Regions from separate parts of the Homo sapiens genome. Here region 1 is linked to region 2. Evidence: promoter capture Hi-C in human tissues and cell types (Jung and others, 2019). All regions are on one chromosome and are shown on one strand. The core of a region is centred on a gene start or on the middle of the fragment in contact, and the rest is flanking DNA. Distances in the headings are between cores, read along the strand shown.

Region 1 (7,292 bases), core at 1,599-4,098, 340 kb after region 2:
GCTACTGTCTGAACATACTCACGCAGGATGGCTGAAAAATGTGTTAGTATTGTCATCTATAATTTTAGTATTGCATTTAAGGGAACAGCACACTACAAAGTAAATAATGAGTTCTAGCATAAGGCATGCAATTCCAACTTTTAAAAGTAAAGATTTGAAAACATTAATTTGGAGACTTGTAGTCCATGAATAATTTAGGATTTAGTCCAAACTGCAGAAAAAACTCAAGAACAACTAACAATGATTGTTTTTTATTTTTGGAGCATAATTTTTCTGTCTCCAGTCCCCATTTTTTAATTAAAAATAAATCACAGTAGGTCAACTTTACTTGCAAAATAAGTTTTAGTCTTATTATGCTCTGCCTGATTACTTGCATAAGTGCAGCAACAATAATTATTGTTCACATAGGCTTTTTAAATTGGCTTTGATGGAACTCTGTTCCATAAGGAATCTCAAACAAGACTTTTTTAAAGCCAGGCCAAGCCCATGGGTTTGTACCCTCAAATAACCATGAGTTGGGTCAATTCCTCTCCTCTTGAGGTCCCAAGATAACTTGGGGCTCCTGGGCCTGTTAGAAAGTGACATTCTTTACTCACCACAGATCAGGAACCCTGTACAGGGACTGTGTAGACAAGGCATGAGGCCAGTTTTCCCAAGGGGCTTTGTTTTCTCTGTTTTGTTTTGTTTTTGAGACAGGATCTTGCTCTGTCACCCAGACTGGAGTGCAGTGATGCAATCTCTGCTCACTGCAACTCCATCCCCCAGGCTCAAGCAATCCTCCCACCTCAGCCTCCCAAGTCGCTGGAACTACAGGCATGTGCCACCACACCCAGATAATTTTTGTATTTTAAGTAGAGACGGGGTTTCACCAAGTTGCCCAGGTTGGTCTTGAGCTCCTGAGCTCAAGCTATCTGCCTGCCCCGGTCTCCTAAAGTGCTGGGATTGCAGGCATGAGCCACCATGCCTGGCCTCAAGAGGCTTTTATTCCTTAAAGGCAAGCATACGATTCCAGTCAAAGCCTTGGTAAAATAACCAGTTTCTTCAATTTTGTCCTGTTGCAAATGAAAACATTCTTATTGCACTTATGGAAGTAACTATATTGCCATAAGAATACTCACAAATAGTTACCAAATCCTGGCAAAATCAGGAAGAGAGAATCAAATATGCTCCAAATTTTGTTTACAGATGTGTACTTTACTCAATATTAAAAGCTGTAAATAGCTCAAAAGAAAGGTTTTCTTGGCTCTGAAAAACAAAAAATGATCAGCAATGTTTTAAACAAAAAGTCAAAAAAAGTTGCCTCAGTCTTCTATTAGTTCAGCCCATGCAGTTAACTTCCATTCTGCTTAGTATTCATGAACATTTCAGCTCTCAATGAGAGTCCTGAAAGTTTTTCCTCTATTCTAATGTCACAATCTCCAAAGTTTTCAGAAACCTGCATTTAAGAGCACCTGTCAGAGTGTTATAGCTGATTATAAAACCATTTAAAGAGGATCAAAAGACAATAATTGTCTGTGGATGACAAAAAGTTTTAGGCCAGCCACAGTTAAAGACACAATTGACAAGGAAATTTGTTACTTCTGGGGAACACAATAATTTAACATAGCAATTATAATTATTAATGATAACATATACAAAGTCATATCAGAATTACAGGAGTTTCACATAATTTTGGAACATATATCAATAACACAAAAATCTTTTTCAAAAGAGAAAACCAAATTTCATGTTTGCATTAATGCCTCTTTAATGCTAAAGCTAGTTTTTAAATAAAATGTTATAAATTATCCAGTTTTAATTAGTTTGACCATAAGGTAAGGTTTTTATAAACTTTTTTAGAACACTTTACAATTTTCCATTAAACAGCAGATTAATTTTCTAAGAAAACCCTTTTGTTTAGACACAGGGGCCCAGATTCTGGCCCGGCATTAGTGTGCTTTTATGTTCAACATACAGAAAAAAATTAAATAATCCCCTTCAAAACTTAAGACCAACCCTTCACAAACACTTTTCAACTTGCTTAAACCTTCAGTTTTGTCCTGTTACTCTTTTAGGTTAAGACGATCTTTAAAGCCCTCTGAACTAGACAAAATTACATTCCCTTTGACAAAAGCCATATTCCCTTACCTTATTTAATCCTTTAGCTAAAGCACATTCTACTTTCCTTACACATCTTGCATGTAAAACAATTTCTCCAGCAGTCTCAATTACACGTTACAACGTTAACACTTAGCAACTTTTGTTTTTGATGAAAACCCTGATAAATAAGTGGTTTTAATTATGTACTAAGTGTGGAGCCTAGGACATCAGACAGAAATGCAGATAAGGTCTGCCTCCAGCATAGCTAGGGGGCATGGCTAATTCCACATGTCCCCAGACCTTAGCTAGAATTTCTAATGGCTCCAAAGTAGGTAAGTCTAACAATTTTCGAAAGTCAAAGAAACAGTTTATGACTTTAAAGCATTTAGCAAACCTAACATCTGACCTTATTTAGACCAAACATCTAAATTGTGAAGACATTTTTTATTTACCAGTGATCTTTAAAACTGTTTTTATTTCCAAAAGATCACTGAAATTATGTGAACAAACAGGCATTAAAAAGTTTCTATTTTTCTGACAAAATACTTGATTTAAGTGCTTATTTTTCTAAGCCAATTAGAGCTCTTTTATACAAACATCATGCATACAACACATATACATAGACAGACAGACAGAAGATCTGGTACTTGTAAGATTTTTCATTTGCTAGTTTCTTAATTGGATTACTGGCTTCAAGGTGACACCCTTGGAGGAACAGCACCAGGAAAGCATGGCATTTCTAGGGCCCAATAAGAAGGCATAGCTAGAAGGCAAAAACATATCCCCAAAATTAAGGGTGCCATTTGTATACTGCATCCTGGATCCCCCCAAAAGAGGGAAATACTATGGGAGAAGATAGTGCAATACTTCTACCATGCATGTCATTGCAAAGCAACCCAAAGCCAATTAGCCCATTTTGAAATCAGCCCATCCTCCATGGGAGTCTCCTCTCAGTTCGGGGTGGGGATATTTCCATACCTTCCAGGTGGCCAAGAGCATGCTTCTCTAATCCAAAAATCCAAGAGCCAAGTATCCCTCTTAACTGCTATTAGTTATCCCTTAAAGTATATTTCCTACCTGGTTATTACACACCAAGACTAAAAGCTCTCAAATAATGCAAAGTAATTTTTGATACCTGCCAAAGTAAAAAATGTCAGGTAATGTAATATAAAACAGAATACAGCCTTAGATTTTGAGAGGGATCTATTCTCTTTCAATTCCTAGGGTTCCATGAGAAAAACAGAGCTTTTTCCCAGAATGGGGTCTGTGGCACCTCCTCTGTTTTTCCCTAAGAGTCCCAGGCTGTTAGAATTTATCTTAGGTTCTTTCATGTGGGCATCAAGAGTGTTGAGAAGACAAAAGTGGAGAAAAACAATTCAGTCAACTGAGAAGAAAAAACCTTTTTTTTCTTTAGAAAAATAAGATCCAAGAAGAGAAAAAAAAGTAAAGGTATTTTAAATATATGTACAGTTTGGATATCTGCTTTTAATGAAGCTGATTTTAACCATACAGCTCTTTAAAAAATTATTTTTTAAATATCTAATTACTAGACTCTAGCCAGCACAGACAGTCAATGTTCCTTGCTTTTGAACTTCACCACAGGTAACTTCCCATGTGAAATTAATGTTTTAAATAAGGTTATAATGGATACACATGGTGATTCAAAGAGAGAGTAATCAGTTTCTTTCTTTTTTTTTTTTTTTAACAAGATTTAGAATCTTCCCAAGGTAGTTCAAAGGAAAACTCAAGAGGAGAAATCAAAAGTGGTCCATGGGGGAAAAAGAATCAATAAGGGTCAAAAAGTTACACAAATAAACCAGAAAAGACTCATTCCCTAAGCCAAGAATTGAACCTGGGATGCCATTGTCAAAAGACAAGGCCTTAGCTACTGAGTTACAGCATTGAGCAATTTCTATTGCTCTTCCTAGAAGAAGCCTAGAGCAGCCAATTTTGAGCTTGCAAAGGCTTTTAACTGCTCAAGATAACTTTTAGGGTTAACTATGACATGAATCCCCAAATTCCTGTCCTCTGGGTGGCAGAGACCAAGAGAAAGTATCCCCACATGGTCACAAGATTGGGCTCTTAAGGACACAAAACAAACAGATAAATTTCATCTAGTATTGGTTTCAGGGACACACAGCAAAGTTTGTAACTGAGCAGCCTGCCAGGATGGCTTGAAAAGTGGGCTTACAGGAGTCTTAAACCCACATTCTATTCTGTGATTCCCTTCTCTCCATTACAGAAGAACACAGAAAGACAAATTCTTAGCACAAAGTACACCAGATTTGCTACCACCTAAGACTAGTCTCACAAATGCTTTCTTCTACTAATCAAACCCTTGCAGAGGAGACAAACAGTGATGTTTATCATTTATACAAATACACACACACACATACACACACAGAGAGAGAGAGAGGAGAGAGAGAGACAGAGACCAGAAACTCGGCTGGTGAGAAATTCTTACCCTTTTTACCAGCATACCAGATTTCTGTGTTCCCTTTCTCTGAAGCTTCCAGAAGAATGGAGCAGCTTTTGATGAATCTGCTTACTGTGCCATAGCTGTGGGGGCCAAGCCCTGTTACAAAAGAAAATCATCCATTTCTGTTTTATGGAACCGTAGGCAAAAGCTTCTCACTTTTGCAAGATGCTGCCTGACGGGTTGCATGGGGAACTGAATTAATATTTTCCATCCCAGCCGAAGCAAAATACACATAACTAAACAGACACTAGTCACCTCGTTCAGCACCCAATATTGACCTGGCAAGGCTCAAATTTTCTCATGTTGGTTCCTATAGTCTTTGATCCACTCCAAGTGGAGAGGGATGACTTCCAACCGGTAATTAAATGGGTGGTCTCTGGGCAAGATGAAGAGTGGACAGTCACCCCATGTCAGGCCTGTTGAGCTTTCTTCAGGGCTCACCAGATGTAACCTGACTTACGGAGGGTTCTCTGAGTTAGGCCTGCTGGACTTCCATCAGCAATTCCCTCAGAGATCCCCTCAACATATACAAACACACACACAACAAAGACAAGACAGACAGAAGGCCTTTGAGACACAGATTCCAGACCCAGTCACAAACCAAGAGTATTCCTCCAAACAAGTCCCCCTATTCTCCATCCAATTAGATACCCCACCAGTAGACATCTCGTGATGGGGCTAAAAACAGACACACCATGATGGGGCTACAGACAGACATCCTGCAAGGCAACCAAGAGACAGCAGCACGTCCAGAGAGGCTGACAAATAGGAGAAGGAAGGGGCTGTTGGCAGCACCTAGAATACTCACCAAATCAGATACCCCATAATGGGGCTACAGCTACAGACACTACGTGATGGGCTACAGACAGACACCCAGTGATAGGGCTAGAGTCTCAGACATCCAGTGGTGGAGCTGGAGACAGACACCCCACCATGGGGCTACAGACAAACATTCCAGCATGGAGCTACAGTTATGGGATATCTCCCAGGACTATTTCTGTATTGCAATTAAATCCATGCCCATTGGATCAGCAGCACCCCACCAGTAGAGCCTAGAGTCCAAGAGAACTAGGTGGCCACTTGGGCTGGCCTCTGGATCTGTTGCTGGAGGGAGTCTACCAAACCACGGGCAGGCAGCCACAAGGGCAAGCCCCAGCAAGCCCCAAATTTGTAACTGCCCATGGGTTCACCTTGTCTGCTGCCTAGACAAAGTTAATTTATCCAGACAGGGGAACTGCAGTAAAGAAAGTAACTCATGCAGAGCCAGCTTTGCGGGAGACTGGAGTTTTATTATTACTCAAATCAGTCTCCCCAAGCATTCAAGCATACAGAGATCGGCGTTTTTAATGATAATTTGGAGGGTGGGGGAAAACCAGTGAGTCAGGAGTGCTGACTAGTTGGGTCGGAGGTGAGATCATAAGGGGTCAAAGCTGTCTTCTTGGGCTGAGTCAGTTCCTGGGTAGGGGCCCCAAAATCAGATGAGCCAGTTTATCAATCTGGGTGGTGCCAGCTGATCCATCAAGTGCAGGGTCTGCAAAATATCTAAAGCACTAACATTTCATTTTATAATAGTGATGTTATCCCCAGGAGCAATTTGGGGAGGGTCAGAATCCTGTAGTCTCCAGCTGCGTGACTCCTAAACCATAATTTCTACTCTTGTGGCTAATTCATTACTCCTACAAAGGCAGTCTAGTCCCCAGGCAAGAAGGAGGTTTGTTTTGGAGAAGGGCTGTTATCTCTGTTTTAATCTATAAATTAAAAACTAAGATCTCCCTGAAGTTGGTTCAGACCATGCCCAGGAATGAAGAAGGACAGCTTGGAGGTTAGAAGCAAGATTTTAGGTCAGATTTCTTTCACTGTCTCAGTTATGATTTTGCAGTGGTGGTTTCACAGACACACTGCTAATCCCCTTACCTAATCCATTAGACTTTGCCCCAGCCCTTGAAGTTGTCTCCCCTGGCCTGCCCAACACACAGGGCACAGCCTGTACTTTCACCAGTAATCACCCCTTCCCCAAATGCACTGGAATCCCACTGATGACAAGGCCTCATTTCTTAACCAGGATGTGGTAAAGTGTTCTATACAGTATAAAAGCCCCCAAAAAATTTGGTGATGAAGACGGATCAATCTCTGGAGCCCCAGTAATGACAAAAAAGGAAGTGTGTATGTGTGCGCACGCGTGCATGTGTAGGTGCGGGGTGGGGGAGCATTACAAGATGTACAAGGCAGTGGAATGGATTTTTGCAGTGGAATGACTTATGGAATCAGTCAGGTCCTTTGCTTTTAGATACCTCCCACAGCTCTTAGCTGTGCATGACTGGTTCTTTCAGTAGCTCCTGCTCTTAGCAGCTAAGAAGGTCTTGCTTGGAGAGATGAGGTACTTGCCTTCACTTACCCACTGAATTTAAAACCCAGTTTAACCCTCCTTGCTTTATGGGGTTTCCTCACAGTCTTCTAAGCATGTCCTTCCAATGGGTGAAGCTGAAGGAGAAGACCCCAGGAATGGCTTAAGAGCTGAGGGCCACTTTAAGGAGACACTCCTTGGACTTTAAATTATGAAAACAAAACACAGAGAACCAAAGCAAAAGCCACTGGAATAATGACATAATGGCCACACTGGAGTTGTATTTGTTTTCTCCTGAGCAATAACACTTTAAAGCTGTCTTGAAGGTTGTTGCCTGGTAGCAGAGATTTGGAGGAGGGGAAGGCAAATTTAGAAATATATTCTATGACT
Region 2 (7,045 bases), core at 3,119-5,618:
CCTCAGCCTTCCTAAGTGCCGGCATTTTAGATGTGAGCCACTGTGCCTGGCCTGGAACTTCCTGACAGAAGTTTTAATGTTAATTTGTTAAGAAACATTGATTACCTAGTCTGCTCATCTGTAAAATGGGAATACTGTCACTGTCTTTGTGATTATAGAGCTCCCCTAGAGACTAACCTGTGAATCACAAGTTTTTTTGTGTGTTTGTTTTGAGACAGAGACTCGCTCTGTTGCCCAGGCTGGGTGCAGTGGCATGATCTTGGCTCACTGCAACCTCTGCCTCCTGGGTTCAAGCGATTCTCCTGCCTCAGCCTTCCAAATAGCTGGGATTACAGGAGTGCACCACCACATCCGGCTATTTTTTTGTATTTTTAGTAGAGACGGGGGTATCACCAGGTTGGCCAGCCTGGTCTTGGAACTCCTGACTTCAGGTGATCCACCTGCCTCAGCCACCCAAAGTGCTGGGATTACAGGTGTGAGCCACCACGCCTGGCACAAGTTTTACAGACTAAAGGAAGTCCCTAATACATAGGTCTAGAACCTTGTTTTCCTGTTTCCTCATTTGAAAAAGCAGTATGCACACCACTATAAATAAATTCTCAATTTCTGCTTTGAAAACAATGCTGCATACACATAGCCCATGAATTTTTCCATAGCACCTTCAACCCACATGCCCCAGTTTTTTTTTTTTTTTCTTTTCTTTTTTTTTTTTTTGATAGAGTGTCATCCAGGCTGGAGTGCAGTGGCACAATCTCAGCTCACTACAACCTCTGCCTCCTGGGTTCAAACCATTGTCCTGCCTCAACCTCCCAAGTAGCTGGAATTATAGGCATGAGCCACTATACCTGGCTAATTTTTGTATTTTTAGTAGAGACAGGTTTCACCATGTCCAGGCTAGTCTCGAACTACTGACCTCAAGTGATCCACCCACCTCGGCCTCCCAAAGTGCTGGGATTACAGGCATGAGCCACCGCGCCCAGCCTTCTTCTTTTTTTTTGAGAGGGAGTTTCGCTCGTCGCCCAGGCTAAAGTGCAATGGCGCGATCTTAGCTCACTGCAACTTCTGCCTCCCGGTTCAAGTGATTCTCCTGCCTCATCTTCCCGAGTAGCTGGTATTACGGTGCCCGCCAACATGCCCAGCTAATTTTTTTTTTATTTTTAGTAGAGATGGGGTTTGCCACATTGGCCAGGCTGGTCTTGAACTCCTGACCTCAGGTGATCCGCCCGCCTCAGCCTCCTAAAGTGCTGGGATTACAGGCGTGAGCCACTGTGCCCAGCATTTTTTTTTGTTGTTTGTTTTCAGATGGAGTCTCTCCCAGGCTGGAGTGGAGTAGCACAATCTCGGCTCACTGCAACCTCTGTTTCCTGGGTTCAAGCAATTTTCCTGCTTTAGCCTCCTGAGGAGCTGGGGTTACAGGCATGTGCCACCACGCCCGGCTAATTTTTGTATTTTTAGTGGTCTTGGGGTTTCATCATGTTGGCCAGGCTGGTCTTGAATTACTTCAAATGATCTGCCTGCCTCAGCCTCCCTAAGTGCTGGGATTACAGGCGTGAGCCCGTAATAGGCGTGCCTAACCAGTTTTCAGGTTTTTGACTTAAGCAACTAGATAAGTGTCACTCAATATCCAAAGGCATCGTCTATCTATTTCTCCCTTCCCCTCCTCCTTCATATCTAGTCAGACACTATATTAGTACGGGTTCTCCAGAGAAACAGAATCAATAGGATGTGTATATGCAGAAAGAGATTTATTTTAAGGAATTGGCTCACATTATTCTGGGAGCTGGCAAGTCTGAAATCTGCAGGGCAGACAAACAGCCTGGAGACCCAGGGAGATTTGACGCTGCAGTCTGGAGGCTGAATTGCTTCTTCTTAAGGGTCTCGTTTTAATTTGAACTGACCGGATGCGGCCCACCCTCATTATAGAGGGTAATGTACTTTAATCAAAGTCTGCTGATTTAAATGTTAATCACATCTAACAAATACAATTCATAGCAACAACTAGACTAGTGTTTGACCAAAAACTGAGTAACATGGGTAGCATCGCCTAGCCAAGTTGATAGATAAAATTAACCATTAAAGTCACTAAGTTCCATTGACAATGACCTTTAAATATTTCTCAAGTTGGTTTCTTCTTCTCCATTGCCATTGCCTTAATTTAGGCTTGTGTTCTCGTTTAATTAATTCATAAAATACTTACGTATTAGGCATTATGCCAAATGTTGGAGATACAATTGTGAGTAAGATTGTGTCCTTAGGGACTTACATTCCACCCTTTTCCTGACTTCTTTCTTGCCTCCTTCCAATCCACATTTTTTTTTTTTTTTGGTCTTGTCACTTTGATGCCCAGGCTGGAGTGTAGTGGCCAGAACGTGGCTCACTGCAGCCTCAACTGCCTCAGCTTCCTGAGTAGCTGGGACCACAGGACCACAGGTGCACACCACTATGCCTGGATATATATATTTTTTTGTAAAGATGGGGTCTCACCATGTTGGCCAGGTTGGTCTCGAACTCCTGGGCTCAAGCGATCCTCCCGCTTTGGCCTCCCACAGTGCCGGGATTACAGACGTTGAGCCACCGTGTCCGGCCCTGATCCACCTTTATAAATGGCTGTCTGTAGATCATGGCCTCTCACATTTTAACTGGGCTGTAGAATATGTATTGAAGGATCATCTTTATAAAATGTTTATTTGTAGACTCTGAAAAGATAACACCAGAAAGGGGGAACAATGGTTACCACTAGAAAGAACGGAGCGGAGCAGCTGATCGTTGTATCTACCTTTTTTGTTTTTTTTTTTTTTTTGAGACGGGTCTAACTGTCGCCCAGGCTGGAGAGCCGTGGCGCGATCTCGGCTCACTGTTGCAACCTCCGCCTCCCGGGTTCAAGCGATTCTCCTGCCTCAGCCTCCCTAGTAGTGGGGATTACAGGCGCCCGCCACCACGCCCAGGTGATTTTTGTATTTTTAGTAGAGGTGGGGTTTTACCATGTTGGCCAGGCTGGTCTCGAACTCCTGACAGCAAATGATCCGCCCATCTCGGCCTCCCAAAATGCTGGGATTACAGGCGTGAGCCACCGCGTCCTGCCCACGTATCTACCTTTTTATCACATGAATGTTGTACCAAGTTCGCGTATTACATATTTGAAAATAAATTGCGAAAATAACAAAAACAAAATCCATCTACTGGCTAGCTCTTTAAAATCCTGCGGGGGAGCCCAGTGGCCCAACGGCGAAGTTTAGCCCATCTTGCCCTTTCTGGTCAGTGTACCTGTTCCATTTATCTCTGACTGCGCCACTCAGTCAGGTGAGGGACCACTGGAGTTTTCTACCGGAAATGCACTTCAGCAAATGCCACTTGCTCTCTCCAACTTCAGTTTCAACCAGCGCCTACCTCAGGAAGCCTTCCTTCATCCTCCGGCCCCCGCCGCCGCTAAGGTTATCCTTTTACATTCAACCTCATAATGCTGCTTTTTGTGGCAGTCATCACAGTGTCGAAATTTGTTTACATGTCCATCTTTGCTACTTGATGGAGGGCAAAGATACACCTCATACCTAGCATAGACCCCAGGAGGTCCGAAATTGTTCTGCGAAAGAAAAAAAAATCAATGTGCTGGCCTCAAAGGGGCTCACAGGAAGGGAAAAGCCTCGAAGACTAAGGCTCTCTTCGATTCCTTCGTGACTAACTCGAGGCAAACATGCCAGGAACGCGGCTCTCCCCACCCGCTCCTGCATCTGCGCCCGGGGATCGCCGGATTCCAGAGGGGTCCCCTCCACCTAGCGCGCGACGACTCCCTCTGGGGTCCCGGAAGCCCGGCCACCGACCCCACAGGCGGGCGTGGCCTCAGAGCCCTCTTCTGAGCACGGCGTGGGTATCCGCAGGCGGCCATGGACGGTGATCACAGTGACCAGAGGGACAGCGCACCCTCCGGTCGAAGCGGGGTAGGCGTTGGCAGGGGAGGGGCGACGAAGACTGGCGAGGTTCAGGCGCCAGCCAAAGAACCACTCTGCTAACTTCCTGGCACTTACGTTTCCTACCCGGGGCCCAGAGTCGGGCGGCGGTCTTCCAGCACCACGAACTCCAGTACTGGTCTGCGTTGTAGGGAGCTGGAAGCCCGACCCAGCACTCCTCAGCCCCCTGTGCCCCTCCCTCTGCTCTTTCCGCCCCTCCCTCCGCCCCCCTCCGCCCCCCCCTCCGCCTCTCCCTCAGCCCCGCAGCGCCACCGACCGCGTTCCCCGCCCACTTCTTACCCGCGCGCGTCGCCGCCGCCGCCTGAGGGGGCGTGGCCTCGGCTCGGCGCACAGTCAGCCACGGTCCCATCCTGCTCCGCGCCGGTCAACGAGAGCAAACCCAGTGACTCACCTCCGCCGTGCTAACTCCTCGCTAGCTCTCCCTCTCACACACGCTCACACCCGGCTCGAGATGGCGGCGGCGGCGGCGGCGGCGGGGGACTCGGACTCCTGGGGTGAGGAGAAGTTGCTGGGGCAGGGCCCGGGCCGGCGCCGGCCCCACGCAGTGGCAGGCACTAACACGGCTCGCTTTCTTCCGTAGACGCCGACGCTTTCTCCGTGGAAGACCCAGTGCGGAAGGTGGGGGGCGGCGGCACTGCCGGCGGGGACCGCTGGGAAGGCGAGGACGAGGACGAGGACGTCAAGGTGGGTGCGGGCTAGGGCGCCGGGCAGCGCGGAAGCGGGCTGGCGCTGTTGCCGGCCGACTCTGGGCCCCGGGTCGCTGCCGGGGCCTGCGGGCCGTGGGTCCAGGCGCGAGCATAGGGCCTGGCGGTGCTCTCTTCCCCTCCGCTTGCCGGCCATGTGTGGGCCGAAGACTGGCAGCGTGGCCTCCCGGACTCCCTCGCCGGTTGAGAGTCTGCTCTCCGGCGTGGATCCCACCCGCCGGCTGGCGACGAAAGGTGACAGCATCGGCCGGGTCGGCCCACGTGCAAGCTTCGCGGTCCGGAGCCTCTCGCAGGAATGAGACCGGGAAGTTGGGAATTGAGCCTTGTAGCTTATCCATATGGAAAGCCTTGAGACTCGCCTGTCTTTTCGAGCTCAAGTCAGCCCAGGGCCAGTAACTCATTTATGACCCTGAGGTCTACTTATACAGTTTGTTCGAGGGATTAGATGAGTGAAATATTGTAGTTGAATTTCAACCTTTTTTTCCCACACGAGACAGCTAGAAACAGTAAAGGGAAATAACTTTTGGCTCTCCCTTCCCCCACCCTGTGGTAAAAAGAATGAACTGACCACTGAGATAGCCCGCAGTTAGTGGACAGAAACCCAGGTAGTTCACACCGTGACCTGAGAAATGGAGAGACGACAGTTACTCAACTACACACATACGACACCTAAGGAAATATTGAAGATTTGGTGGTGGTTGTAGATGACGGGCCCGTGGTTTTTTGTTGTTGTTGTTGTTTTGTCTGTGCCTTGTAGATAATCATTTTTACCTCAGTCGTTTGATTTTGAAAACTCCGAAGGGTTCATTATACAGCTGTAAGTGACATTTACTTCTACATGGTTTTTTTTTTTTTTTACAGTAGTTACAGAAGTCTCAAATCCAAAATGTTAAGACTCTTATTAACAAAGTTCTCAAAATCTTGTTATATTTGTGCAGATAAAGTTTTGTGTGAAATGGAAAATGATTTTTTTTTGTGGTTTTGCCTAATTTAGTGAATTTCTCCTAATTTATAAACACAAACGGAGAACCCTATAAATCCTGCCTGGGCTGAAAAGTTTAAGCTAGATAATCACTATGAACTTAATAGGAATGTTGTTTTGAGTTTTTCTGTTCTCTCCCCAGTCCGATGAGGTTGGATGTGTGGATGTCCGATTTACTGACAGCCTGAGGTTCAAGAATGTTGTGAGCTTTGCACACATTGAAGTTAATAAATCGACTGGTTATTGTTTGAAGACACTCAGATGCTTTATTTACATGTTGTAGAAACATGGGACTAGATTTTGTTACCAGCCGCATTACAAGATATTAGTTACCCCTCTACATTGTAGCAGATTTTCAGTTTTGAGCCTTGGGTTCATATTGGTCCTTTCATTTTTTTCCATGCATATAGGAAGTGGCAGTTAAGACATCTGTTATGAAATTTGGGAATAAATTAACAAATGCAGAGAAAAGATTAGAGATATTAGGAAAGAAGTTGCAGAAAATGAAGTTTTAATGGATAGTCTAGACTAATGTCATGGAATAACTTCCTTGGGATTAAGGGATCTAAATGGTATCGATCTTGATGAATATAATTCTTTTTTTTTTTTTTTTTGAGATGGAGTTTCGCTCTTGTTGCCCAGGCTGGAGTGCAATGGCGCGATCTTGGCTCACTGCAACCTCCACCTCCTGGGTTCAAGTGATTCTCCTGCTTCAGCCTCCCAAGTAGCTGGGATTACAGGCACGCACCACCACGCCTGGCTAATTTTGTATTTTTAGTAGAGACGGGGTTTCGCCATGTTGCCCAGGCTGGTCTTGAACTTCTGACCTCAGGTGATTCTCCTGCCTTAGCCTCCCAAAGTGCTGGAATTATAGGCGTGAGCTACCGTACCCAGCCTCTGATGAATATAATTCTGATCACTTGGAACAAGTTTTGGATATTTACAAGTTGTAAGGGACCACAAAGATTATCTTGTCCAGTTGCTCTTTTTTTTTTGGAAATGGAGTCTCGCTCTGTCACCCAGGCTGGAGTGCAGTGGCACAATCTCCGCTCACTGCAAGCTCCGCCTCCCAGGTTCACTCCATTCTCCTGCCTCAGCCTCCCGAGGACTACAGGTGCCCACCACCACGCCCGGCTAATTTTTTCTATTTTTAGTAGAGACGGGGTTTCACCGTGTTAGCCAGGATGGTCTCAATCTCCTGACCTTGTGATCTGCCCGCCTTGGCCTCCCAAAGTGCTGGGATTACAGGCGTGAGCCACCACACCCGGCCCCAGTTGCTGTTTTAGTGCTAAATTTCTTTTTCTTTTTTTTTTTTTTTTTTAACTTAAAGCAATCTATCTATTCATCTAATTTTTTGAGAGAAGGTCTCACCCCGTTTCCCAGGCTGGAGTGCA

What was found. The method cuts DNA at HindIII sites, captures the fragments that hold promoters and counts their contacts. A contact is called where the count stands out against the background at its distance.
Region 1: a contact is called between a fragment that was not itself captured here and the fragment with the promoter of EIF3J in region 2, in 1 of the 25 tissues and cell types used here (lymphoblastoid cells).

Annotation. Positions count from the first base shown.
Region 1 is chr15:44,876,952-44,884,243 of GRCh38, forward strand. It overlaps the pseudogene SORD2P. Among named protein-coding and RNA genes, the nearest start is that of TERB2, 76 kb to the right of the region's middle. The HindIII fragment of the contact is 3,597 bases long and covers 1,051-4,647 here.
Region 2 is chr15:44,532,779-44,539,823 of GRCh38, forward strand. EIF3J (eukaryotic translation initiation factor 3 subunit J) reads left to right here and starts at 4,369. Exons shown (of 8, transcript NM_003758.4): 1 at 4,369-4,459; 2 at 4,546-4,649. The coding sequence starts at 4,417. It overlaps EIF3J-DT (EIF3J divergent transcript), which reads right to left and starts at 4,145. Exons shown (of 2, transcript NR_034170.1): 1 at 3,265-4,145; 2 at 1,727-2,696. RefSeq lists enhancers at 3,037-3,824, 3,512-3,961 and silencers at 4,132-4,301, 4,492-4,801, 4,822-4,871. The HindIII fragment of the contact is 9,957 bases long and covers 1-7,045 here.